6 separate regions of the Homo sapiens genome follow, and all the other regions are linked to region 1. Evidence: promoter capture Hi-C in 16 types of primary human blood cells and fetal thymus (Javierre and others, 2016). All regions are on one chromosome and are shown on one strand. Each heading gives the region's core, a stretch centred on a gene start or on the middle of the fragment in contact. The rest is flanking DNA. Distances are from core to core; before and after follow the strand shown.

Region 1 (4,544 bases), core at 852-3,351:
TCCGTCTCCTCTCTGGGGGACACACAAGGGCTTGATACTGAGGTATTTGGGGCACCTTTTCAGGAATCCCCAGAAAGCCCTAGGCAGAGTCATGAGCCACATTGTTGAAGGGGCTTAGAACTTTGCAATGCGCCCCTTGGAGATGCCAGTGGAAGGAGAGAAATTTGGAGAGCCCTCTGGGATTAGACTTGCTGGATGAAAATACAGAATGCCCACTTAAATTTGAGTCTCAGATAGAAAAGGAATACTCTTTAGTATAAATATGTCCCAGAGGGCCGCCACAGTGGCTCACGCCTGTAATCCCAGCACTTTGGGAGGCCAAGGTGGGCAGATCACCTAAAGTCAGGAGTTCAAAACCAGCCTTGCCAACATGGCGAAACCCCATCTCTACTAAAAATACAAAAAAATTACTGGGGTGTGGTGGTGCACACCTATAACCCCAGCTACTTGAGAGGCTGAGGCAGGAGAATCGCTTGAACCCAGGAAGTGGAGGTTGCAGTGAGCCGAGCTTGTGGCCACTGCACTCCAGCCTGGGTGACAGATCGAGACTCTGTCTCAGAAAAAAAAAAATCCCAGATATTGTACTGTATTGTACTGGACATATTTATACCAAAAAGCATTCGTTGTTTGTCTGAAATTCTAATTTACCTGGGCATACTGCATTTTCATTTGCTAATCTAGGACCACCTGGAACTCCCAGGGAAAGAACAAGAGAGACTGTGACGACGGCTTGCACTCACGGATCTCTGTCCATGGTGAAGTGGCCGAGTGCACTGGCCTGACTGTCCTCCCCACCAGCTTCAAGGTGTCCATTAAGCCAGGGCCATGACTGATCGGACAGAAGAGGGGTCATCCTGTGTCATCCTATGGGGTCACACACATGCTGGGCTGTGCCTTGGACCCAGTAACTTACTTTTTCAGAAGAAAACTGGTTTCTTGGGGACCTCCTGAGAGGACTGGGAGGGAATCCTCCAAAATGATTTCCAGTTCCCCGAACTTCATTCCTCCATTATTCTTGATGACTTTTTCTTTTTCTTTGAGACAGTCTCACTCTGTCATCCAGGCTGGAGTGCAGTGGTGCAATCTTGGCTCACTCACTGCAACCTCCACCTTCTGGATTCAAGCAATTCTTGTGCCTCAGCCTCCCGAGTAGCTGAGACTACAGGCTTGCACCACCTTGCCCAGCTAATTTTTGTATTTTTAGTAGCAACAGGGTTTCACCATGTTGGCAAGGCTGGTCTCGAACTCCTGGCCTCAAGCAGTCTGCCCGCCTCAACCTCCCAAAGTGCTGAGATTACAGGCATGAGCCACCATACCCAGTGGATGACTTTTTCTCTAATCACAAAAGAAACATACATTCAGGGTGAAAATGCAAACATCACAGAAATATAAAACTTAGAAAGTCTCTCCAGAGATAACTGCTATTAACAGTCTGATGTGTTTTCTTCCAGCTTTTCCTCTATGAATATGATCATGTATTATTATCTTCATAAATAGAATTGTATTACACAGGCTGTTCTGAAAGTTGCTTCCATTTATCATGATGCCGGGGACTTCTTTCCATATCTGTGTGCATTCCTGCTTCACTGGTCTTACTCGCCTCGTTCTTTATGCCAGTGGTGCTGGGTCTTTGGAGTTCTAAGCGCCTTTGGGTGTTCCATGAATGACAAATGCACACAGGCAGATCCCACAAATATATGACTCTGAGTGTCATAGACTTCCCGAGGCTGATCTACTACTGACCCCTTCACCCTGTGCATGGTGTGAGGATAGGGGTGTGGGGGGAAGATGGGGATCACAGAAATGGGTCCAGGAGGGTGGGAAGGACAGTGTGGGTGACTTTCCTATTGATAGGGAGACCCATGCCTGGGGAGCCTCAGTCAAAGGGGTCCTGGGTCACTGCCTCCACTGTGAGACCCTCTGACTCTCCTGAGCACCCACCCCTGGGCTCCTCCTCAAGCTGGGGGTTCCTCTCCTGGCATCCTCAGCAAGATCACCTGACTCCAGCAGCTGCCAACCCCCTGGGCAACGCCAAAGCCTCCTGGCCTCAAACGGGTTGGGCGACATTCACTTCCTCGCGCTGTCCTCCCGACCTGCTCTGTCATTAGGAATTGCCTCGGCGGTGGCGGTCACACTAACAGCAACAGGAGGAGATCGTGCTGCTGCTCAGCACCTCGGGGTGGCTCAGATCTGCTGGAGGCCCCAGGAGGGAAGGTGGATGCTGCTCTCTCCGGTCCCAGCTAAAGTGAGTCTAGGGGCCTGGATGGGCGTGGGGAAGGAGCTTGGCAATGTTGGAAGGTTGCCAACATTGGAAGGATGCAGGAGAATGAGAGAGAGAGAAATTGAGAGAGAGAGAGAAAGAGATACCTGTGGGTGAGCAACTAGTCACAGCTAAAGCTATAGGACCTTGCACTGGGGCTCCAGGAGGGAATCCCAGGTGCCTGGAAGTATCATTCTGTCCCACTGGCTCCTGTGCTGAGGTGGGGATGGGGGGTGTTTTCTCTGGGGTGGGGACACCTGCCCCCACACTCTGTTCCGGAGATGGGCTACTGCTGTGGGGGAGGCTCAGTACTGGGGCTTCCCAAGGTCAGCTCCCTTGGGCCAGCCATTGCCTTCCCCCTGCCTCCCAGGTGGCCAGAGGGGCATCCTTGTTTAGGGTCACTCTAAACCTAAAGAGGAAGGAACTTTGGGTAGTCACTTTTCTAACAGTGCTATTTCTTCTATTCCTTTGACCAAAGTCTGAAGACAAAGTCTTAAGCTCTGAGCCTCAGGTCCCTTATCTGTAAAATGAAGATAATCCCTACGCCCCAGCCTTGTTGTCAGGATCAGAAGAGGAAGGGATGCAAAATGCCAAGCATATAATTAGGATTCAATAAATGGTCGCTGTTGTAAATAATAATAATTATTTATTATTAGCTCAATACTGGTCCCACTTCACCTAGGAATACTTTCCAGCCCTCCTCTCCCCTCAGTTTCCTAAGGCACCAACAGGGATGCTTTGGCACTTACTGCATTCTTCTTCAACTCGTTTGTGCTCAAACTAGAGTATGTTCCTTGCATTTCTTCTGTTGCCCTCTCCCTCACCCCAGCATCCAAACAGAATCATACCATAAGAGGAACTCAAGGATGGGGAATGGAATGGGATTCAGAAAGCGAGAGAGGCAGAGGGAGGGGTCAGGGAAAGACTGAGAAAGGGAGGCAAGAAGGTGGGGAAGGAGGTAGCATCGTCCAGGTGTTGACGGCGTGGCTCTCCGGAAGCACGGGACGGGGGAAGGATTGCCCAGAGAGGCCATCGTTGGAAGCGGGAAGGACTGTCCAGAGAGGCCATCATTGGAAGGGGGAAGGATTGTCCGGAGAGGCCATCGTTGTAAGAGGGAAGGATTGCCCAGAGAGGCCATTGTTGGAAGGGAGAAGGATTGCCCAGAGAGGCCATCATTGGGGCCTCGGATGTCTTCTGCACTCCCTGGGTCCTTTTTACTTTTCCTCTAACTCGGATGAAAAGTAGAGGCTCTCCTTCTCCTTCCCTGCTCGTCTCAAGGAGGACGGTGCTTTCTAACTTGGCTAATACCTACTCACCCAATCTATCAGCTGATTCTAACAATGTTCTACCATCTACGGAATCTTCTCTGTCTCGGTTAACTCCCTCTCCGTCACCTTCACCGGTCACCTCAGGTGACTCACTTCCCTCTCTCTAGACATGGATCTGCTCATCTCTGAAACTAGGAGCTTCAACTAAGTGATCTCTAAAGTCCTTTTTCCCTCTAGTATTCCTTATTTGCTCTTCTTGTCAGCCTTGGTCTCTACTTCTCAGTTATCCAAACAACTTAAACCATTGATCATCAATACTCCTTTCAAAAAAATATCTTTTTCAAGAAAACTTATAAATGTCCACTAGGCTCTAAAGTTTTATAAGAACTTCCTTGGCCACTACTTATCCCCAATATGTAAGTCAGTACCTAGCACATAGCAGGTGCTCAATAAATATGTGTCGAATAATTAGACAGATGGATGGATGGATAGAAGGATGGAACTCTTGCCATCATACACTCTGGGGAGTTATGAAATGCAGGGAAACATATTAATAGTTGATTGGCTTAAGAAAATCATGCCCATCCTGATTATAATGGCTGTTTGGTATAAACATTTGCAAATGTGTTATGAAATAACTACCAAGAAAGATTGGAATAACCATTTAAATTATTATCCATTGCCCATCACTTATCTTATCCATTGTCATCTTGTTCCGTTATTCTAATTTGAGGTGAGCTGCCCTCTGTCAAGTGGGTGCGATTTTTTAATCATCCACATACTAAGGAACATTTGGGGATGAGAGGGAAGGAAAGGAAGGCAAATGCTGTGGCTGCCTCAAGAGCTGTGACAGGGGTCTCCAAGTCCCCTTTGGGAGAAGAGGGGACAGGACATGGTCTGTCTTAATAATGACAACTGCCATTTACTGAGCACTTACTCTGAGCCAGACTCTTCACTCACATTAGCTCACTTAATTCCCCCAACAACTCTCCGAGGAAGATGATACCATTATTATC
Region 2 (4,544 bases), core at 828-3,327, 480 kb before region 1:
GCGTGTATGTGGAAAAGTTGTGGGGTGGGTGCCAGGAGAGTCCTAAGACTCTGAGACCAAAGAAAGCAGGCTCTGGATCAGGGGACCTGGGGCTGCTCCGGTGAGGGCAGCAGGCAGGGCAATGTCTCCTCAGGGGGCACTTGCTTCTTCCAGATGCTGGAGAGGAGGCAGGGGCTGATGGAGGCCTCAGGCTCCCTCCTGTGACCTGGCCATTAACCCTGGAGCGCAGTCAGACAAACCCCTGCCCTCCCACACCCCTAGAAGTGGATGGGCAGTTCTGAGAAAAGGAACTGCCAGGGGCTGGCAGTGTTGGATGGCCAGGGATTTGGGGCTGACCTGGGCCTTCCTTCCAGATTAGCACATCGCAGATCAAAGTGGACAAGGTGCAGATCATCGGCTCCAACAGCTGCCCCTTTGCTGTGTGCCTGGACCAGGATGAGAGAAAGATCCTGCAGAGTGTAGTCAGGTAGGAAAGGGGGGTCCTAGGGAGGGGAGCAGTTTCTGCTCCCACCAACCCAGAGGCCTGGAAGGAGCTGGAAGGATGGGGGCCTGCTCTGATCCCTGGCCCCTGCCCTGCTGCACAGATGTGAGGTCTCACCGTGCTACAAGCCAGAGAAGAGCGACCTCTCCTCACCACCCCAGACGCCTCCTGACCTGCCGGCCCAGGCCGCACCTGATCTCTGCTCCCTTCTCTGCCTGCCCATCATGACTTTCAGTGGAGCTCTGCCCTAGTGTGGGCCCAGCGCCAGACTGGACAGAAGCCCTGGGGCAACCTCCTCGGCCACCCCTCCAGGACAGTCCCTCTCTGTGGAGAACTGAATGGCCCTGTGCAGAGCCATAGTCCCACTGTGGGTCCTGCAATGAGCAGGGGCTGGGAGTAGAGGGTTTCTGGGGCCTCAGGGTTCTGGGAAAGCAACAGCTATCAGAGAGAGAAGGGCCAGACCCCATAGCCTCTTAGATTCCTGGCAGTAGAAGGAGAAGGATGGGTAAATTGACCTCTGAAGTCCCTGACCATTAGCATGGTCTAGGATCCTTTCTAGAAGGAAGATCTGAGGCTCTGGTGCTCAGGGGGATGGCTTGGGCCTTTTCTCTCAACCTTGGCTGAGCCTACCCCTTACTTTGCCAAAGACTTGAGGACCCTGTATGTCTGGAGTTCAGTCCCCTCCTCTGTGGGGCTCAGGTGATTGAAATGTGGATGAAACATTTCTCTACTTCAAGACCACCTCTCCCTGCAAACACCACACACACATGGCATGCATGTACGCACATGCGCACACACACACGCACACACCTCAATAATTTCTCTCAAGTTTCCTGAGTCTCCAGAAAAACAGCACTAACGCTGGACCTGTCTACTCTCAGAACCCGGCACAGATTCTCTCTTGATCTCCTTTTGGAATCTGAGATTCTTAGAAGACAGGATAGGGTTAAATTTAGTAGCAGCTCAGTTCTAGCTAAATCACTAGAGGAAGTTAATTAACTTTAAGCCTTCATTTCTCCAGCACTAAAATGGAGTGGAGAGTTGGGGTGGAAATAAGACATCCTTAAAAGGTTAAATTGTCTGCAAAGCACCTAGCCCAGTGCCGAGCTCCCAGTAGGTGTTCAGTAAAGCTTAGTGCCTGACTTTCTGAACACTGATTCCTCCTGTTTGGAGTCACTGGGATACTCTCATTGCCGTTGGGATGTTCCTCACTCCTTCCCAGTTCGTGGCTGAGGCAGAACCCAGACTGAAGAGGGAAGAGACATTCCAGAGGAGGATTGCCTTCGTCAGGGTAAGGGGTGGGCTGCTCAGGGGCCCTACCCTTCACCCCCTTCTGTATCAGATTGGCCCTCCCACTCCCATCTCACTCTGCGTGTACAATCTTCCATATCCGCAAGTTCACTGGCACTCTTCTGGCACCTGGGCAAGATCCCAGAACAGAGGATGGAGTGACTGGCCTCACAGAGCTTAGTGCCCGACTCAGGGGAAATGGGACTGGTGCATGGGAAATGGTCAGCCTAGGATAGGACACGAGAGTCTGAAATTCAAAGCAACCAGCTTGAAGTGGTTTGAGAAGCTGGAAGCAAACATGGGCTAGAGAGATAGGGCAGAAGTCAAGACGAGGATCTGGACTGATGTGGAGAAAGTAGCCACGGAAGCATGAACTGTATCCTGCACAAAGTCCCTCTTCCCCGCCTCCTAATTCATTATGCCCAAAAGGCCTTACGTGAAATTCCAGCCCAGAGTACTCATGACTTGAGAGACGTGGACAGAGCCAGCTTCTACCTTGCCTGGCCGTCTCTCCCCTGTCTTAATGTCTGCTCTTGCTCTAAGCTCCAGAAGAGTGGCGGGCCATGTATCTTCAATATGTTTTTGCTGTATGGGCAGGTTGTCTTATTATGTGATCAACAGATGTCCAGGAACTAATGAGTGGAATTTAATATTATTGTCAAATAAAACTTGATTTGTCCTATATTTAATGACCAGTAGTTACTTTGCTGCATGACCCTGCTAGTTGGACAGTTTATATAAATCATTTTATTTATACCAGAAAGAAGCTTCATAGGGGATTGTTTTATTTCTCTTTTTGTAATTTTCCACCCTATAGAAAATATATTTGGGTGAAAATTTTCCCCAATACTGTTCTGCTTAAGCCTCATCATACTCACTGACCCACAGAACAAAAATTCCTACACCTAAGGACTCAGCATTTGGGGTTTCCTGTGCTACTTCACTTGAGAAATATATACCCATATATCCATCTGTTTCCTGTACCCCAAGCTCCAGGGAGGGGACGGGCCTGAGGCCGTTGCTGCGGATGGGTGGCACAGTGGATCCTGGACCTACCATGCAGCTGAGAGGAGGGGAAGAGAGCTCAATAATGGCCCTTTGGATCTGGGACTGCCTTTAGACTTGGGTGATAAGGAAAGAGAGAAGAAGAAGTGGAGGGATGGTAGAGGACACCTGTGGCTTGGGAGAGGGAGGTAAGTACCAGGTTGCCAGAACACTATTCAGGATGGAGGGAGAAAGAACTGTGAGCTGTTCCAGCTCTGCATCAGCTGGCTATTGCAAACAATGAAGCATACCTTCAATTCAGGGAACTAAGTCTCCGATCATTTGTTCTTGCTCATGCATCTGGAGGACATCTAGGGACCACCTGATCTAGGCTGGGCTCAGAGTGGCTTGGCTCCAAGCTGCAGGATGGGTGCAGATCTGCTTCGTTGGTCTTTCAGACACATTGGACCAGCATGAGAGGCAAGCAGAGACACGCGATGCCTCCTAGGAATGGAACCTGGAACAAGAACAATATTCCTTCTGCCAATAATTGGCTAACACTGATGAAGCACATCAACCCACAGACTTAATAAACCCAGCAAATTTTGCACAGGAATTTTGACACAGGAATCTCCACACAAGAAAAAAACAAAATCACATGAGAAGTGCACTTTACCTTTGATGTTCTTTCCATAACTCCAGTCTAATCAAGAGTAAAAAAGATCATATAAACCCAGACTATGGGACCAGATAACCTGACCAGTACTCTCTTACTGTCACAAAAAATAAGGAAAGACTGAGAAACAAAAAGAGATGGAGTAAACCTGAAAAATAAGCAGTAGACACTGGCTTGTATCCTGAAACATTAATCCAAAAACTGGTAAAATCCCAATACAATCTGGAGTTCAGTTTTTTCTTAAACACACACACACACATACACACACACACACACACCCCTTACTGTCAAACTTCTAAAGAAAAAAAGGTAATAAGAAAATACTAAAGACAGAGGAAAATAATACACTTTATCTTCAAAGTAGCAACAATTAAACTGAGAACTCTCTCTTTCAATAGAAACAATGGAAGCCAGAGATGATGAAATGATATCTTTAAAGTATGAGGGGAAAAAACAAACCTACTAACCTGGAATCACACACCCAGAATTGTCTGATAATACTTTTTTAAAAAAAACTTATAAACTGCAGCGGTCGGGCGCAGTGGCTCACACCTGTAATCCCAGCACTTTGGGAGGCCGAGGCAGGCAGATTACGAGTTCAGGAGATCGAGACCATCCTGGGTAACACGGTGAAACCCCGTTTCTACTAAAAATACAAAAAATTAGCCGGGTGCGGTGGCGGGCACCTGTAGTCCCAGCTACTCAGGAGGCTGAGGCAGGAGAATGGCCTGAACCCGGGAGGCGGAGCTTGCAGTGAGCCGAGATCGCACCACTGCACTCCAGCCTGGGTGACAGAGCGAGACTCCATCTCAAAAACAAAACAAAACAAAACAAAAAACTTATAAACTGCTCACAAGGGACACACTTTAAATATAACATCACAGAAAGGTTGAAAGCAAAAGGATGGAAAGAATCACACCATGCAAAACCAACCAGATCAAAAAAGCTGGTGTTAACACACTAATATCCAAAGATGCAAAACCGGACCAAAAAAGCTGGTGTCAATACACTAATATCCAAAGATTTAACAGCAGAAGCATTACAAAAAATAAAGAGGAACATTTCATAAAGATTAAGGAGTCCAACAAAAGGTATTACAGTTATAAAGCTATA
Region 3 (4,544 bases), core at 1,284-3,783, 450 kb before region 1:
GTCTCGAACTCCTGGCCTCAAGTGATCTGCCCCCCTCTGCCTCCCAAAGTGCTGGGATTACAGGCATGAGCCACCGTGCCTGGCCTACACTAAAGAGCTTTTGCACAGCAAAATAAATTATCAACAGAGTAAACAGACAACCTACAGAATGGGAGAAAATATTCACAAAGTATGCATTCCAACAGAGGTCTAATATCCAGAATATATAAGGAATTTACACAACTGATTAAGCAAAAAACAAATAACCCCACTTAAAAAATGGGTAAAAGACATGAACAGACACTTCTCAAAAGAAGACATACAAGCAGCCAACAAATATGGAAAAATGCTCTACGTTACTAATTATCAGAGACATGCAAATCAAAACCATCTCACACCAGTCAGAATGGCTACTAGTAAAAAGTCAAAAAACAACAGATGCTGGCAAGGCTGTGGAGTAAAGGGAATGCTTATACACTGTTGGTGAGAATGTAAACTAGTTCAGCCACTGTGGAAAGCAGTTTGGAGATTTCACAAAGAACTTAAAACAGAGCTACCATTCGACCCAGCAATCCCACTACTGGGTATATATCCCCCCAAAAACAAATCATTCTATCAAAAAGACCCATGCACTTGCACGTTCATTGCAGCACTATTCACAAAAGCAAAAATGTGGCATCTACTTAGGTGCCTGTCAACAACAGACTGGATAAAGAAAATGTGTTACATATACAACATGGAATACTATGCAGCCATAAAAAAGAACGAAATCATATCCTTCGTTGCAATATGGATGGAGCTGGAAGCTATTACACTAAGCAAATTAATGTAGGAACAGAAAGCCAAATACTGCATGTTCTCACTTATAGGTGGGAGCTAAACTTTGGGTACTCATGGACACAAAGATGGCAACAATAGAAACTGGGGGCTACTAGAATGGGGAGGGAGGGAAAGGGGCAAGAGTTGAAAAACTAGTTAGTGTGGGTACTAGTACTACTCATATGAGTAGTACTATTATTAGTAACAGTACTCATAGTACCTAGGTGATGTGATCATCCATACTACAAACCTCAGCATCAAGCAATATATCCGGGTAACAAACCTGCACATGTACCTCCTGAACCTAAAATAAAAGTTAAAAAAATTTTAAATAAAAAAAGTTTAATATTAATAATAATATTAATACCTAATTAGTAATATCCCACATTCCTGGATGCAGAGGAGGATAATAATAATGGATGCCATTTATCTATTGACTATTCGAGTCATCAAGGATGTTAGACCTGCATACCATATGTGAACAATGCTGAGCCACTTGAGTCACAGGAAATATCCCATTTCTTTCTTCCATTTAATCAAATCAAAACCAGCTTCAACCTCTCATATTCCAAGGTTAGGATGAACTCTAGCATCATTCACTTGGAGTGCTTCCCCCTACGTGGGAGTTTGTGAGAAGCTCAGGGTTTATAAAGTCTGGGTAGTGGGAAAAGTCTGTCGTCTCCAGTCCACGGTGGCTACAGCCACCAGAACTGCTTGGCCAGACTTGCAAGGTGCAGAGGGAGATAGAGCCTGCCTTGAGGGACATTCTCGTGCTCTGGTGAAGATGGCTCAGGAGACCTTTGCTGTGGCATCAGAGGCACAGGGCTCAGTGCTTAGCGGCCTTCATCTGACCTTTGCCGCCACTGGTAAGCTTTGTCCCAGCCGGTCTGATTTTCCTCATTCCCTGGAACCCTATATCCCTTGTGCGTTCACAGTCTTAGGGAATCCAACCTCCACCCTTGGGCTGGGCCACTCTCCTCTTTAAAAGCATCAACCTTCTTCTGCACCTTTTTAGACAATCCAGCTTGATTGGCTCAATCAACTTGCCAGGAGCCTCAGACTCAGTGCCTCCAGGGGCCAGGCAGAGGATATAAATGAGTGAAACCGAGGCATGGGGAACTACAAAGACCTAGAGAAGCTGTGCCTATCTAAGGGGGCAATTGCTCCCCACCCCCTATGATTGTCACATGTGAGAAGAATCCAGGTTCGGTGTCAGCAGATTGTCAGATTTTCGAGAGATGCCAGAAACCCAAACGTTATGCAAAATCTCCTGACTTGTAAATGTTGGCAGCTAATTCATTGCTTTTTTTTTTTAAGACACTATACAAGCCCAAACAAAACACATAGCAAGCCAGATGTGGACCAAAGCCTGAGAGTTTGTTTTAGCTACCCAGACATTCAAAAACAAAATTTATTTGAAGTGGTCTCCCAGGGCTACTGGCAACTTCTCTATTTTTCTGTGAAACATAAAAATTCAACTTCCCTTGCAAAGCAAGGGGACCCAAGCTCAGAAGACAAAGGCTTGGCTGTGCTTCTGATGAGGGGAATGAGAGGAAATCACATTTGTCACAGTTTTCAGCCTTTCTTTGCAAATATACAATGGAAGACAGAATAAGAAAGAGGAAGAAGGAAGGAAAAAAGAAAGGAAGGAAGGGAGGGAGAGAGAGAAGGAGGGAGGAGAGAGAAAAAAGACTTAGCACCAGCTAATTTTCTAATAACTCATCCTGCATTAACTCATTAAATCTTCATGCAAGGTGGAAATGCATAGACGGAGGAAAGACTGTGACCAACCTTCATGCTGAGCTAAATGATTTCCTCAACAGTCTGGGGAGATGATGCTCTGCCCAGCAGAGGGACCAGGTGGGCAGATGTGGCTGTAGTATCCTGTCCACTCTCAGCCTGGAGGAGATTCAGGACCAGGCCTTGCCAAGTGGGGGCTTCAGGGATGTGGACCCCGTAGGCTTTGCATGGGTCTGAGGAGGGGCCAGACCATGAGCACTAGCACCTATGGTGACTTGGCCTAAAAATATTTTAACTCTTGGACTGCAATCTGCTGATTTTTAAATTTGTTATCTCTATTCTACTTACTTCCAAAGGAATCTGAAGCAATTCAGATATAGATTAAATAGAATATAAAGCAGGAGGACCAAAAAGGAGCCAAGAAGAGAGATCCCTGTCACATGAGATGAGCTAATTTTTGAGGCTGGGCCCCAATTTGACCGTAAGTTTCCTGATAGCCCAGTCAAAGAGGAACCCTTGGGGCATGTGGTTTGTGTTGTCTGACAACTGGAGAATACACACTCACCTATAATGGCAAACTCTTGGTGGGAGCTAATTGCAAAGAGGAATTTATTGTGTGAGGAGTGTTTCCCGTACTTCTTGTCTGAGTCTGGATCTGCCAAGAAGCAGACACCAAGTTCAAGGATTTATTTGGGGAAACACTTGTGTGACAGAAATGGAGAGGGACCTGGGAGAGCAGCTGTCAGACCCTGGTGCAAATCTGACTCCAAATGAAGGAGAAAAGGAAGAAGGGTCAGTGGAAATGCCTTGGACTGATGGGAGTCCAAGAAAAGCTCAGCAGGGCAGTTGGAGAAGCTTGAGCGTCTCCTGGGGAAGGTCCTGCTTTAGAACCACTACCATACCGTGTATTTTGGCTGGGAGGCGTGGCTCAGCAGAAAGTGATGGATTTCACAGCTGTCTTAGTCTGTTTGCATTGCTATAATATAAAGGAATACCTGCAGCTGGGTAATTTATAAAGAAAAGAGGTTTATTTGGCTCAGCGTTCTGCAGGCTGTACAAGAAGCAGGGTGCCAGCATCTGCTTCTGATAAGGGGCTCAGGGCTCAGGAAACTTCCACTCCTGGTGGAAGGGGAGCCAGTGTGTACAGATCACATGCTGAGAGATGAAGCAAGAGAGAGGGGGAAGGTGCCGGGCTCTTTTTAACAACCAGTTCTCAGGGGAACAAATAGAATGAGAACTCACTCATTACCGCAAGGATGGCATTCATGAAGCATCCACCACCATGACCCTAACACCTCCCATTAGGCCCCACGTCCAACACTGGGGAACAAATTTCAATATGAGATTTGGAGGGTCAAATATCCAAACCACTGCAACAGCACAGCAACTGGGGACCTGGTTCCATTAAACTCCCGGTAGTGGGAGAGGAGCGAGGTACATTCTCACAGCTACCACACTTCCCAAATGTCAGTTGCTTATTCTTGTACCACTTTCATGGTTTTTTTTTTTTCCCATGTCAACGTACCACTGTTAAAGAAAGAAATTATTCTGGAACTTATTAAATGGTAAGGAAGACTTATCCAAGACTATTGCATTAGGAAAGAGAAAGCAGTCTCAACTTGGAATAAAGAAAAGCCAGTTGGGGATTTATAGCCAATGAGCAGAGTGAAGGGGTCAGCGGATGGAAAATTCCTAAGAGGAGACATCAAGGGTCGGGACATTCTTGCTAAACTGAGCTAACAGGATTTTTGCTAGAGGCACAAGTCAAATTCTTATACATCGACGGTAAGGGATGAAGGGGTTCAGGAGATATCAAGAGTGGAGGACTCCAACCTAAACTGATTTGGCAGGATTCTTGCTAAAACTGGGATGGGCAGGCCAAAGGCAGGACAGGAGCCAGGGCTGAGCCCTAGTGAAGAAGAGGGCTAAGAGGAGGCTGAGTAAGGTTTGGTCAAGGAGAGAGTCTTTGTTACCACCTGTCCTGGTATGTATCTGATACGATTCTT
Region 4 (4,544 bases), core at 888-3,387, 330 kb before region 1:
AAAGATGCAGTGGGAGGGCCCAGCACAGTGGCTCACACCTGTAATCCCAGCACTTTTGGAGGCTGAGGCGGGTGGATCATGAGGTCAGGAGTTTGAGACCAGCCTGGCCAACATGGTGAAACCCCATCTCTACTAAAAATGCAAAAATTAGCCGGGCATGGTGGCAGGCACCTGTAATCCCAGCTACTCGGGAGGCTGAGGCGGGAGAATCGTTTGAACCTGGGAGGCGGAGGTTGTAGTGAGCCAAGATCGTGCCATTGCACTCCAGCCTGGGCAACAAGAGCAAGACTTCATCTCAAGATTCACTGGGAGATGCTGCCCTCCAGCAGCTCACTCCCACAGGCACATCTCCTGCTGAGACCATGGCTTCTAGTCCATCCACTCCAAATTTTGAGTTTCTGAATCCCTCTCAACTTGGATTCACCTCTACAGGAGAACTTCAGATTGCCCAAAAGTTATTAGAAAATATCTCACTTCATTCCCGTAGGAGATGAACCTACTCACGGAAATACACGACCGAGTCGCCTACAGATTTAAACTTAAGGACCTGGGAAAGTACAAGTTGAAATCAGAGGTCAAGGATGGAGAGAAATACAGACTGCCCTTGGTTCTTAAGGGTCTTAGACAGGGGCAGTAATTGTTTCTGAGCTTGCTGGTAACCTGAATGAAAAGCCACCTGTAGCTCTTATACTAGAATAAGAAAAAATAAGGTTTCCTCCGAGACAATGTGCCTTTTCCCAGCACTTAGTTCTCACTGAAATTTCTCGATGAGGCTTCATTGACACTGTATGAATAATGTTCTCAACAGCATCCCTGCAACCAATGCAGGCACTGGCTTTGTAAGGCAGCTGCTTATAGAGAACAAGGAACGTGGTACACAGGACAGCTTAGGAAAAGCGATTCTGCAGAAGGCCAAGTCAATTTGAATTCCTTCGAGTGTGTCATGGAAGGTTTGGCATTATCCCTGAAGAAAAGCCAAACTATCTGAACAAGCACTTTCCAGACTGAATCTCCTGAGCTATTGTTTCCTAGGGGGAATAAAAGGACTCCATAGACTAATACATTTAGAAACTCTAAATTAAACGAAGATGAGATTAAAAAAACAAACAGGACTTGGAGTCTTTGCTATAGTTCTATGCCCTGAGATGCTCCCAGCAGACAGCGTTTCTAAAACTGACTTGACCACAGGACTCCTTTGGGGCATGTGACCACTTATTATGAGAACATAGCTCAGGAAACGCTGACCTGTCTTCTCTGTCATCTTGGGAAAGCTGCTTTAATTCATTGACTCTCTGTTTTCTCATTTGCAAAATGGGAATGATATTGGTAATGGTAACAGTATCAGCAGCTGACAGTTGTTGAGAGCTTTGGACAAAGTCTGTGTAGTTCCATCTCCAGAGACAGCCTTGAAAAGGAGAAGTTTTAGAACTGAAATCCTTTTTTTATTTTTTTAATTTTAGGTTCAGGAGTACACGAGCAGGTTTTTTTTTTTTTTTTTTTTTTTTTGAGACGGAGTCTCACTCTGTCGCCCAGGCTGGAGTGCAGTGGTGTGATCTCGGCTCACTGCAAGCTCCGCCTCCCAGGTTCACGCCATTCTCCTGCCTCAGCCTCCCGAGTAGCTGGGACTACAGGCGCCCGCCACTACGCCTGGCTAATTTTTGTATTTTTAGTAGAGACGGGGTTTCACCGTGTTAGCCAGGGTGGTCTCGATCTCCTGACCTCGTGATCCGCCCGCCTCGGCCTCCCAAAGTGCTGGGATTACAGGCTTGAGCCACCGCGCCCGGCCTTAATTTTTTGTATTTTTAGTAGAGATGGGGTTTCACTGTGTTAGTCAGGATGGTCTCGATCTCCTGACCTCGTGATCCACCCGCCTTGGCCTCCCAAAGTGCTGGGATTACAGGCGTGAGCTACCGCGTCCAGCCAAGCAGGTTTGTTATATAGGTAAACTCATGTCACAAGGGTTCGTTGTACAGGTTATTTCATCACTCAGGTATTAAGCCGAGTATCCAATAGTCATTTTTTCTGATCCTCTCCCTCCTCCCACTCTCCACCCTCAAGCAGATCCCAGTATGTGTTGTTCCCCTCTTTGTGTCCACGTGTTCTCATCATTTAGCTCCCACTAATAAGTGAGAACACTCAGTATTTGGTTTTCTGTTCCTGCGTTAGTTTGCTAAGGATAGTGACCTCCACCTCCATCCATGTGCCTGCAAAGGACGTGATCTCATTCTTTTTTATGGCTACATAGTATTCCGTGGTGTATAAGTACCACATTTTCTTTATCCAGTCTACCATTGATGGGCATTTAGGTTGATTCTCTTTGCTATTGTGGATAGTGCTTCAGTAAACATCCCCATGCATGTGTGTTTATGATAGAACGATTTATATTCCTTTGGGTATATAACAAGTAATAGGACTGCTGGGTTGAATGGTAGTTCTATTTTAATTCTTTGAGGAATCACCATACTGCCTTCCACAATGGTTGAACTAATTTGCACTTCCACCAACGGTGTATGAACGTTCCCTTTTCTCCACAACCTCAGCAGCATCTGTAACTTTTTGACTTTTTAATAGTAGCCATTCTGGTGTGAGATGGTATCTCACTGTGGTTTTGGTTTGCATTAGAACTGATATCTTAGAGGCTGTCTGGGCCAATCTTTTCTCCCTCTCTCCTTATTAAAGATGAAGAACTGAGTTCCAGAAAGATGGAGTGATTGCCCCAGACCTGCGACGGGGGCCCAGCTAGGTCATCTGACTTCTGGAGCATGACTTCCGTGTCATGCTGACTGCGTGCTCTTTACAAAACAGAAGGCGGTGAACAGAATTTACATTCCTTTTCATGACTCAAGGTTATCATGATGAGCATCAGCTCTGGGTTTCGAATGCACGACCACCTTGAGGGCGGTGAAGTTGTGGAAGGCGGTCTGCCCATGCTGACGGAACCCTGCCTGCTAAATCCTTTTCATCCACCAGCCTGCTTGTGACCCTTTCTTTCTTATCCCTCCTGCTTGACTCTCAGCCTGGACTTCATACATCACCAGGGTCTGCCTTCAGGAGTTCCCAACTCCATCCCTGTTTTGTTGCTTCTCATCGGCTACACCCAACACTCAATTTCACCTCAAAACATTGTCAAATGAGAGAAAGTGGCCTCCTCAAGAAGTCAGTCATGGTTGGGTGCAGTGTCTCATGCCTGTAATCCCAGCCTTTTGGGAGGCTGAGGCGGGTGGATCACTTGAGGTCAGTAGTTCAAGACCAGCCTGGCCAACATGGTGAAACCCCATCTCTACTAAAAACACAAAAATTAGCTGGGCATGGTCACAAGTACCTGTAATCCCAGCCACTCAGGAGGCTGAGACACGAGAATTGCTTAAACCCAGGAAGCGGAGGTTGCAGTGAGCCTAGATCGTGCCACTGCACTCCACCCTGGGTGACAGAGCAAGACTCTTGTATCAAAAAAATAAATAAATAAAAATTTAAAAAGAAGTCAGTCACAGGAAAGCAATGATGAATTCTTTACAAGTGAATGTCTGGGATGCTCCATCTTGGGACAGGGGAGGCCTCTGGGGGGCGGAGTTAACGCTGGGCTCCTTGCCTTTCTAGATCCAGCAATTTATCCAAGACCGGTCGGACATCTGGGCAGAGGTGAAAAAGAAGGAACAACAGCGAGTCCGGATTTAAGGAGGCAGCCTTGTTCCAGAATGTCCTGAGACAGAGATCGTGAAAGAAGAAGTCGTGAGCCTGCGGTCCAGTCAGTCCAGCTCGGGACCGATGCCTGCTGTGCCTTCCTGCTGAGGGACACCTGCTTATTTTCCCCCGTGGGCCTCACTCTATCCCTGAAAACAGTGAATGTTATATGAAGTTTGTTCTCAAGTTCTCTCTAGCCCTTTGGTAGTTTATTCATGGGGAAGAGTGCAGTGACGGGGGACCCCCCCAACAAGCACTCACTCTCAAAGCTGGTCACCTAGGCTGCCTGGGAACTAGAAACCACATCTTAGGTCTGGTGTCCCCTCACCTTTGGGCTCACACACAGTCAGTGTTCAGGTGGGCAACAAACCAGTAGGGTCAGTACAGAGGACTCTTCTCTCATCCACCACTTCAAACTTTTATATTTTATTTTATATTTTATATTATATTATTTTATTTTATTTTATTTTTTTATATTTTATATTTTATATTTTATTTTATATTTTATAATTTTATATTTTATATTTTATTTTATTTTATTTTTATTTATTTTATTTTATTTTATTTTTGAGATGGAGTTGCCCAGGCTGAAGTGCAAGGCGCGATCTCGACTCACTGCAACCCCTGCCTCCTGGGTTTAAGCGATTCTCCTGCCTCAGCCTCCCGAGTAACTGGGATTACAGGCGCCCGCCACCATGCCGGGCTAATTTTGTATTTTTAGTAGAGACAAGGTTTCACCATGTTGGTCAGCCTGGTCTCGAACTCCTAACCTCAGGTGATCCACCCACCTTGGCCTCCCAAAGTGCTTGGATTAGAAGCATGAGGTGTTTCTAATTTGGGTGCAAAGACCCACTTAAAACTAC
Region 5 (4,544 bases), core at 1,049-3,548, 310 kb before region 1:
TAATATTTATTGAAATTACAATTCAAAATCATAGCTCTTTAAGCTTCAGCTTTCTAATCTTATCCCGTTGATGTCCAACATATTTTACCTATCACTTTTAAAAGGATTTTGGATGTGTGGTTCCAATTATAAGGTTAAATTCCTTTTAAAGATTTAAAATTGCATTGAGACACTTACTGTGTTCTGTTTCCTTTTATGTACTTTAATGGCCTGACTTAACAACAAAACCTTTTCAAGTGTTTAAGTTTAGATTATTCATGCGATAAATTAAACTTGCAAATATGACAACCTTAGGGTTCTCTTAAATGTTCCAATACTATATATACGCTTAGGAAGTTTTCAGTTTAAAGTCATAAGTCTGAATCAATTAAATACTTACTAATTTTCAACTGGAATTTTGACATTTTTTTCTGTAAATAGGCTAAATTCTAGTAAGCATTATATATACATAAACATGCCTAGATTCTTTTACATGAAAACATTAATATCATGATTCCCTTAAACTTTCTATACTTAATTTTAAACCCTCCTGGGGTTAAAAGATTCTCACCAAGGAAAATGTAACATCATTTCCAGTTTTGGGAGTGCCTTCTCCACTCTCCTGAGATTACATAACAACTACTCTGCCTTATCTATCTTGCTGTGTCAATGACCCCATAATTCAAACAAAGTGCCACATAGACCAGGACACCTAGATTTAAGTTGTATGTTACACCCCTACCCAGGAAGCTCTACCACCTGATTTGATTTTGCTCATCTTTGGTTTTTCAAACTGGTAAAGTTGTTTATGTCTAACACTAAAGCTCTTTGAACCAGATGGAATTCAACATTCTTTCAAATTCTACTCTCTTTAGACTTCACAAGTCTTAGAGATAATAAAATGATTTCTGAAGAAATCATGGCTTAGGAATGAGCTGTTTTTCATCTACTGGAGGAACTTCAGACATTTGTCAGCCATAGGAACAGACTTGGGAGTCATTAGTTCCTTCCTAGGTTTGTGACACCCTGTACTTCCAGAGTTCAAGGTCAACCAACTCTTAGGACAGTAAATAGACTTTCTGCAGGAGTCCTGTTTGGATTCTCTCCTGCCTTAAAGTATAAAAGTCACACAGATGGGACCAGGAAGACAGAGAAGCCACCATCTAAAATTAGATATGCTCTGGAAGGCATGTCGGAGCGCCTGAGTCATTCATCACCTCTTTTGAATTACAAACCTGCGGTCGCGCACAGTGGCACACACCTGTAATCCCAGTACTTTGGGAGGCCAAGGCAGGCGGATCACCTGAAGTCAAGAGTTCGAGACCAGCCTGGTCAACATAGTGAAACCCCGTCTCTACTAAAAATACAAAAATTAGCCAGGCATGGTGGCGCACACCTGTGATCCCAGCTACTCAGGAGGCTGAGGCAGGAGAATCACTTGAACCCAGGAGGCAGAGGTTGTAGTGAGCCAAGATCACCTGGGTGACAGAGCCAGACTCCGTCTCAAAAAACAAACAACCAACCTGGTTATGCTGGTATGGGAGGTGACATTGTTTTTTGTTTTTTGACGGAGTCTGGCTCTGTCTCCAGGCTAGAGTGCAGTGACACGATCTCAGCTCACTGCAACCTCCGCCTCCCAGGTTCAAGAGATTCTCCTGCCTCAGCCTCCCGAGTAGCTGGGATTACAGGTGTGCGCCACCATGCCTGGCTAATTTTTATATTTTTAGTAAAGACAGAGTTTCACCATGTTGGCCAGGATGGTCTCGATCTCTTGACCTCATGATCCGCTGAGCTCGGCCTTCCAAAGTGCTGGGATTACAGGCATAAGCCACCGTGCCTGGCCTTGTTCCCATTTTTAATTAATTCATTCATTATTGTTTATATATTATGAATAATGTCATTGTCTTCAAGAAGCTCACCATCTACCAAGGAGACATACCAGCCAGGGTTCCAGGCTGAAGGTAGCCTACATTGTGGGAAGAGTTGATAAAGTGCAGTGGGAATCAGGAGAGGGAGGGGTGGTGGCAAGCTGATGGAATGTCATCAGAGAAGGCTTAAGGAAGGGGACGTTTGATATCCAATTGTGTTTGCCGAGTACCTATTGTATGCCAGGCACTGCTGCGAGAGGGACTTAGGGATGAACAAGAAACAAGAAAACATTAAGTTAATTTGAGGTCGTGAGGAGTTAGTGTTTATTGCGATCTTGCCATGTGCAGACACTATTCTAAGAGCTTTTCATAGATTGACTCACTTAATCCTCGCAGTCCTTCTGTGAGGCTGGAGACCATTATTATCCCCATTTTGTAGGCGAGGAGTCTGTTTCAATTATCCATTGCTACATAACAATCTACCCCAAAACTGAGTGGCTTAAAACAGCAATTTTATTTGTTCGCAATTTGGGGGTTCAGAAACTCAAGCAAGGGCTTAGTGGAAACAGTTCATCTCTACGCTGCGGTGTTAGCCCTGGTTGGAGCTGGAGGATCAAAATGGCCTTACTCAGTTGACTCGGGCTGTGGGGCTAGCTGTCAGCTGGGGCATGTCAGTTGTCCTTTCTGTGACCTCTCTCTCTAGCAGGATAGCTAGAACTTCTGTATATGGTGGCCAGCTTCCCAGAGTACAAAAACAGAAGCTGCAAATGACATAGCATCATGTCCACCACATTTGATGGGTTCATGAATGTCACAGAGCCAGCAAAGATTCAAACGGAAAGGAAACTGACATGGAGAAGTGGCAAACTCACCTTGCAAAGGGCACACAGGATGGAAACGATTGCTGTGGCAATCTTTGGAAACGATCTTCTTCAGATATGGAGTTTAAATAATTTGCTCAAGATCATACAGCTAATAATTAGGCTATGGGGATCAGTAGGGTAAAAGTTAGATGTGCAGAAATGTGGAGAAGGACATTTCAGATTAAAGGATGCATGTGAATGAGGGCCCATTGACGTGAAAACCTGGAGTGTGATTGTTCAGTTTGCTGTGTGAGAAGAAAAACTTTAGACAAATTGAATTTAACAGAGTTTAACTGAAGAAAAAACGTTTGAGAATTGGGCAGCCCCCGAACCAGAATGGGTTCAGAGCGATTCCCGAGACTGCCATATGGTTGGATAACATTTATGGACAGAAGAAGGAAAGTGACAAACAGAAAAGGAAAGTGAGGTATAGAAACAGCAGGGTTGGTTACAGCTCAGTGTCTGCCATCTTTATGGCTTGAACAGTGGGCCGCCTGTGATTGGTTGGAATTCTGTGACTGGTAGAAGAGTAGATTACAGACTTATTTACACATCCAGTTAGGTTACAATTCACTATGTATGGAGAAACCTTTAGGCCGCACTTAAAATATGTAAGAAGGCAGCTTTAGGCGACAGTTTATGTAACAGCTGGAAGAAGTAGGTGGACAAGAATGAACAAAAAGGATAGGCTGAGGCCAGATGGTGGATGACTTTGAAACCAGGCTAAGTGATTTGGAATTGGCTCTGCAGGCAATGGGAAGCTATGAAAAGGCTTCGAGCAGGAGAGTGACTTGATCAAAATCATGCTTTAGGAAGATTAGCCCTATGTATTGTGGACGAATGGAGGCAGCCCAATAAATGAGGAGACCTCCATAGGCACAATGAAGACCTGACCTAGGTAGCATTTGTGGAAATAGGGGCTGGATATAAATGCGGGAAACATCACATGGGTGAATTTGACACACGTGGTTTTTTTTTGTTTGTTTTGAGACAGAGCCTAGCTCTATCACCCAGCCTGGAGTACAGTGGCACGATCTCTACTCACTGCAAGCTCCGCCTCCCGTGTTCACACCATTCTCCTGCCTCAGCCTCCCAAGTAGCTGGGACTACAGGCGCCCGCCACCACGCCCAGCTGATTTTTTTTTTTTTTTTTTTTTTTTTTTTGTATTTTTAGCAGAGATGGGGTTTCACCGTGTTAGCCAGGATGGTCTTGATCTCCTGACCTCATGATCCGCCCACCTTAGCCTCTCAAAGTGCTGGGATTACAGGTGTGAGCCATCGTGCCCGGCCCACACATGGTATTTTATAGATGAAGAAATTGTTACTCTGAGAGGTTTACCTTCCAAGACCTCTTAGAGCAAATGGCAAAGGCAGATGGTAAGAGCTCAGTTGGTAAAAATAAGTGGAGGCTAGAGCCCACATGGGAATAGAGCCTTTGAGCCCCTAGTCCATTCAAGCACAATGAGAGTGTTCATAGTAGAGTACCATAAAACTTGGGGACAAAAGTGGCTAATCTCTGGGGCACACTGGCATCAGCATAGTGTTGCTGCCAATCCCACGAGTTGGCCAAGGAGGAGAGTATTTGGCTTGAGCTAACAGGAAGTGTCTGCTCTGGTAGATAACCTGCAGCCTTCCTGCTCTGAAGTGCCCACTTAGAAGGGAGTGAGGCCTAGTCCATGCAGGGTTAGATTGAGGCTGGGTGTGGAGGGGAAGCTAGGGGTTTAAATTTTGCTCCTTCCACATACACCCTGAGTTGCTTTGGGGTTCTTTCTAAATAAGAACACATTTTAAAGGCAGCAGGGAAGAGAGAAGAGATGTGATATTCAGTTCTTTC
Region 6 (4,544 bases), core at 1,486-3,985, 270 kb before region 1:
TACCCGTGGGGCAAGGAGCTGAGCCAGAAGGTATTCTGTTGAGGTCCCTTTTAGTGTGAAGGTCAGGGGTACTCACTCTTCCTCCAAGATAAGATTCCTTGGGATGTTTGTTTAAAACATTCCCAAGTTCTGCCCCAGACGTATTCAATCAGAATCTCCAGGAGGCAGGCCTGGGAGTCTATATCTTAATCTGCACCCTGGACGAGTCTTATGATGTCAGGGGTGTATTACATTCTTACATCAGGAAAAGTCAGGGATTGCTTGTTGGTGACAGGATATCTCTGAGCTTCCCTAGCCCTGTTTTGCAGAAAGGAGGAGAAAAGAGAGACTGGGGCTTGGAGCACTAACCTTTAAGGGGGCCTATGGTCCCTGAGTCCTTCTGTCCCCTTTGGTGTTCCCAGCAACCCCAGAGCTCTGAGGCTCTTCTATGAACTTGCTTTGCTTACACCTGGACACCCAGAAGGAGCATCAGGGGATCAGCACTGGGTTTGGGGAGGCACAGCCCAGGACAGGGTTTAGAAAACTGGGGTTTTGGTGTGGCTCTACCACTGATCTTGGCAGAGCAGCTTTGCAGTACCTTGGGTTAGGGCTTGACTTTCCTGGGCCACAGTTTCTTCATCAATAAAATGGAGACAATTAATGACTAACTCACTGACTGTCCAATAGTCAATAAAGATTCTGGAGCTCTAACTGTTAGGGACTGTCTTTTTGGCCAGCAGGAAGTATTCAGTGAGGTACTAGCAGAGGAAATGCTTTGAGCAGTATGAAGCTCCTTATCAGCATTTCCCAAGGGACGCACCATGGATGTGGGCTGTTAATCATGTTCCACAAAAATAAAAAGGGCTCTGTGTTCTGTTGAGGAAATGCTTGATTAAATTGAATTAAATAGTCTTTGATTTAGGACTGCTCTGGGTCTTTTATTGAATGTGCACTGTGACTTGCCAGGGCAAGTGTGTGTGTGTGTGTGTGTGTGTGTGTGTGTGTAGGAAAATGTAATCAGACCTCCCCAGACTTGCTTGTTTGGTGATACCATTAATTAGTGAAACACTTCTCATTTTGTCCTCCTTTTAAAAATTCTGGTAAAATAATATGTAACACAAAGTTTACCATTCCGGGGGCATTAAGTATCTTCACGCTGTAACAATGTGCAATCATCACTATCATCCATCTGCACAGCTTTTTCATCTTTCCAAACTGAAACTCTGTATCCATTAAACAGTAACTCCCCATTCCCTGATCTCCTGGCTCCTAGCAAGCACCATTCTACTTTCTGTCTTTATGCATTTGACTACTCCAGCTACCTCATATAAGCAGAATTGTGTAATATTTGTGCTTTTATGTTGGACTTATTTCACTTAGCATAATGTTCTCAAGCTTCATCTGTGTTGCACCAAGTGTCAGAATATCCTTCCTATTAAGGCTGAATAATTGTAGGACCATATGTATATGCTACATTTTATCTATCCACTTATCCATTGATGGAGATTAGGGTTGTTTCTTCCTCTTGGCTATTGTGAATCATGATGTTGTGAACAGGGGAGCATACATATCTGTTCCAGTCCCCACTTCGATTCAGAAGTGAAATTGCTGGATGATAGAGCATCTCCTGGGCTAGTGTTTTGTGGAGCAAACTTTGGAAAGATTGCTCTCGGCCGGGCGCAGTGGCTCAAGTCTGTAATCCCAGCACTTTGGGAGGCCGAGGTGGGCGGATCATGAGGTCAGGAGATCGAGACCACGGTGAAATCCCGTCTCTACTAAAAATACAAAAAATTAGCCAGGCGCGGTGGCAGGCACCTGTAGTCCCAGCTACTGAGGAGGCTGAGGCAGGAGAATGGCGTGAACCCAGGAGGTGGAGCTTGCAGTGAGCCGAGATTGCACCACTGCACTCCAGCCTGGGCAACAGAGCAAGACTCCTTCTCAAAAAAATAAATAAATAAATAAATAAAGATTGCTCTGTATAAGTCTGGGGGCGGAGTACTATTAAGTGAGAACATTGCTGAATTTTCCAGGGATGTCCCTGCCCTGGATGATACAGTGGGAAAGCATGCTGGATTAGGAGTGAGGACTCGAATTCCTCCCTGAGCTCTGCGGGCCTTGGTTTCTGCAACGGTTAAATAACCATGACAAACTGGGTGATCTTTTGAAATCTAGGATTCTTTGGCCTATTGTGGTTCCCCTCCCACAGGCATCAGGGTGGTGGGTGAGGGTGAGGGCGGCGGGAGGGAGAAGTCTGGGAAGGAGACATTAGCTTGAGACGAGGATAACTTAATGTCTTCATCCTTTGACCTCGACGTTTTAATTGTTTAACCTACAGTTGACTCTTGAACAACACGGATTTGAACTGTGCAGGTCCACCATATACGTGGATTTTCTTCCACCTCTGAGATAGCAAGACCAACCCCTCCTCTTCCTCTTCCTCCTCAGCCTACTCAATGTGAAGGTGATGAGGATGAAGAACCTTATGATGATCTACTTCCACTTAAGGAGTAGCAAATATATTTTATCTTCCTTATGATTTTTTTCTCTTTTTTTTCTTTTTTTCTTTTTCTTTTTTGAGATAGAGTATAGCTCCTTTGCCCAGGCTGGAGTGCCGTGGTGTGATCTTGGTTCACCACAACCTCCGCCTCCTGGATTGAAGCGATTCTTCTGCCTTAGCCTCCGGAGTAGCTGGGACTACAGGCGTATGCCACTGTGCCTGGCCCCTTACGATTTTCTTAATAACATTTTATTTTCTGTGGCTTACTTTATTGGGTTTTTTGGGGGCTTTTTGGTTTTTGTTTTTTTGAGAGAGGGTCTGTTGCCCAGGCTGGAGTGCAGTGGCACTATCTTAGCTCACTGCAACCTCCTTCTCCTGGGTTCAAGCGATTTTCCTGCCTCAGCCCCCAAGTAGCTGAGATTACAGGCACACACCACCACACCCGGCTAATTTTTGTATTTTTAGATGGGTTTTCACCACGTTGGCCAGGCTGGTCTTGAACTCCTTACCTCAAGTGATCCACCCACCTTGGCCTCCCAAAGTGCTGGGATTATAGGCATGAGCCACCGCACCCGGCCTTTGGCTTACTAATATATATATATATATATATATATATATATATATATATATATATATATATATGGTTTTTTTTAATTTTTCCCCGAGACGGAGTCTCACTCTGTCACCCAGGCTGGAGTGCAGTGGTGCGATCTTGGCTCACTGCAACCTCTGCCTCCCAGGTTAAAGCAATTCTTCTGCCTCAGCCTCCCGAGTAGCTGGTACTACAGGTGCATATCATCACGCCCGGCTAATATTTTGTATTTTTAGTAGAGACAGGGTTTCACCATGTTGGCCAGGCTGATCTCAAACTCCTGACCTCGTGATCCACCTGCCTCGGCCTCCCAAAGTGGTGGGATTACAGGCGTGAGCCACCGTGCCCAGTCAGGTTACTTTATTGTAAGAATACAACATATAATACATATAACACACAAAATATGTGTTAATTGTTTATGTGATCAGCATGGCTTCCAGTCAGCAGAAGGCTATTAGTAAAGTTTGGGGGAGTAAAAAAAAAATTGTACGTGGATTTTCAGCTGCGTGGTTGTCGGCGCGAGTAAACCGCCCCCCCCCCGCCCCCGCCCCACGCCCGCCACTTTGTTGTTCAGAGGTCAGCTGTATTTTCTTTTATGAGGGAAAGCCATATTTTGCTCTTTCCTCACCTTTGTGCTTCGGGATCCAAACACTTCTTGGATAGTTCTCTCTCAGTTGTTCTTTCGCCTCTAGAGCTGGTATCATAGTTGTGAACTTCTCTTTTGACCTTCCCCTCCGCAATCAGTCTAACGGCTACTGGGAAAGAATGAGCTGCTGTGTCTCCTCTTCCACTTTTCTCTGCTTAGCCTGGCTTTCCTTTTCTTCCACTATTAGAAACACACACAAAAAAGAAAAGTCCCACGTGTTTGTCTCCAGACCATGAGGGTAAACCTCAGGAATGACGCTTTCCTCTAGGAGTTAAGTACTTTTCCTCTTCAAAAGTAAAGTCTTCCCTCTCCCGATAGGAATCTCTGGCTGCTGCTTGAATTTTAAATATAATAACCAGGTTTATACATTAAGCAAGCTTTGCCTGGTTCCCTCAGCAACAGCTCTAACTTGGATAGCTTGCCATAGCATGTTCTAAAGGAACTTGTGCATTTCATTATAATAACATCCCACTTATTCAGAAGGGAAGAAATCTTAACTTTTCAGAAAGACGGAAAGCTAAAATTAGGCCATGAACCAAAACAAAACCTTTTAAGCCCCTCGAATAACCTTCACAATGTCCTGCTCTAAAGACAAGAGCGGCCAGGTGCGGTGGCTCATGCCTGTAATCCCAGCACTTTGGGAGGCCGAGGCGGGTGGATCATGATGTCAGGAGTTCAAGACCAGCCTGGCCAAGATGGTGAAACCCCGTCTCTACTAAAAAAACTACAAAAATTAGCCAGGCGCGGTGGCGCACGCCTGTAATCCCAGCTACTTGGGAGGCTGAGGCAGAATAATTGCTTGAACCTGGGCAGCAGAGGTTGCAGTGAGC

The links. Contacts are between HindIII fragments. The CHiCAGO score rates a contact against its expected background, and 5 or more counts as called.
Region 2: a fragment that was not itself captured here is called in contact with the fragment with the promoter of RNF222 in region 1 in 6 of 17 cell types (naive B cells, megakaryocytes, total CD8 T cells and 3 more); the score reaches 5.6 in naive B cells.
Region 3: a contact is called between a fragment that was not itself captured here and the fragment with the promoter of RNF222 in region 1, in 2 of 17 cell types (M1 macrophages and monocytes). The highest score is 6.0, in M1 macrophages.
Region 4: a fragment that was not itself captured here is called in contact with the fragment with the promoter of RNF222 in region 1 in 16 of 17 cell types (M2 macrophages, naive CD4 T cells, M1 macrophages and 13 more); the score reaches 11.0 in M2 macrophages.
Region 5: a fragment that was not itself captured here is called in contact with the fragment with the promoter of RNF222 in region 1 in 5 of 17 cell types (M2 macrophages, endothelial precursors, M1 macrophages and 2 more); the score reaches 7.2 in M2 macrophages.
Region 6: a contact is called between a fragment that was not itself captured here and the fragment with the promoter of RNF222 in region 1, in 2 of 17 cell types (M2 macrophages and M1 macrophages). The highest score is 5.7, in M2 macrophages.

What each region holds. Positions count from the first base shown.
Region 1 is chr17:8,395,384-8,399,927 of GRCh38, reverse strand. It overlaps RNF222 (ring finger protein 222), which reads left to right and starts at 2,101. Exons shown (of 3, transcript NM_001146684.3): 1 at 2,101-2,233. The HindIII fragment of the contact is 4,699 bases long and covers 1-4,544 here.
Region 2 is chr17:8,876,827-8,881,370 of GRCh38, reverse strand. It overlaps PIK3R5 (phosphoinositide-3-kinase regulatory subunit 5), which reads left to right. Exons shown (of 19, transcript NM_001142633.3): 18 at 354-466; 19 at 585-2,455. The coding sequence ends at 732. LOC124903919 (a long non-coding RNA gene) reads right to left here and starts at 3,989. Exons shown (of 3, transcript XR_007065610.1): 1 at 3,067-3,989. The HindIII fragment of the contact is 927 bases long and covers 1,614-2,540 here.
Region 3 is chr17:8,841,206-8,845,749 of GRCh38, reverse strand. The region is part of intron 2 of PIK3R6 (phosphoinositide-3-kinase regulatory subunit 6); the gene reads left to right. Among named protein-coding and RNA genes, the nearest start is that of PIK3R6, 24 kb to the left of the region's middle. The HindIII fragment of the contact is 1,724 bases long and covers 1,672-3,395 here.
Region 4 is chr17:8,729,261-8,733,804 of GRCh38, reverse strand. CCDC42 (coiled-coil domain containing 42) reads left to right here. Exons shown (of 7, transcript NM_144681.3): 7 at 3,598-3,870. The coding sequence ends at 3,675. Among named protein-coding and RNA genes, the nearest start is that of CCDC42, 13 kb to the left of the region's middle. The HindIII fragment of the contact is 8,994 bases long and covers 1-4,544 here.
Region 5 is chr17:8,708,984-8,713,527 of GRCh38, reverse strand. The region is part of intron 2 of LOC105371525 (a long non-coding RNA gene); the gene reads right to left. Among named protein-coding and RNA genes, the nearest start is that of CCDC42, 34 kb to the left of the region's middle. The HindIII fragment of the contact is 4,505 bases long and covers 46-4,544 here.
Region 6 is chr17:8,670,081-8,674,624 of GRCh38, reverse strand. It overlaps LOC105371525 (a long non-coding RNA gene), which reads right to left and starts at 4,043. Exons shown (of 4, transcript XR_001752781.1): 1 at 3,697-4,043. RefSeq lists an enhancer at 1-2,622. The HindIII fragment of the contact is 2,717 bases long and covers 1,377-4,093 here.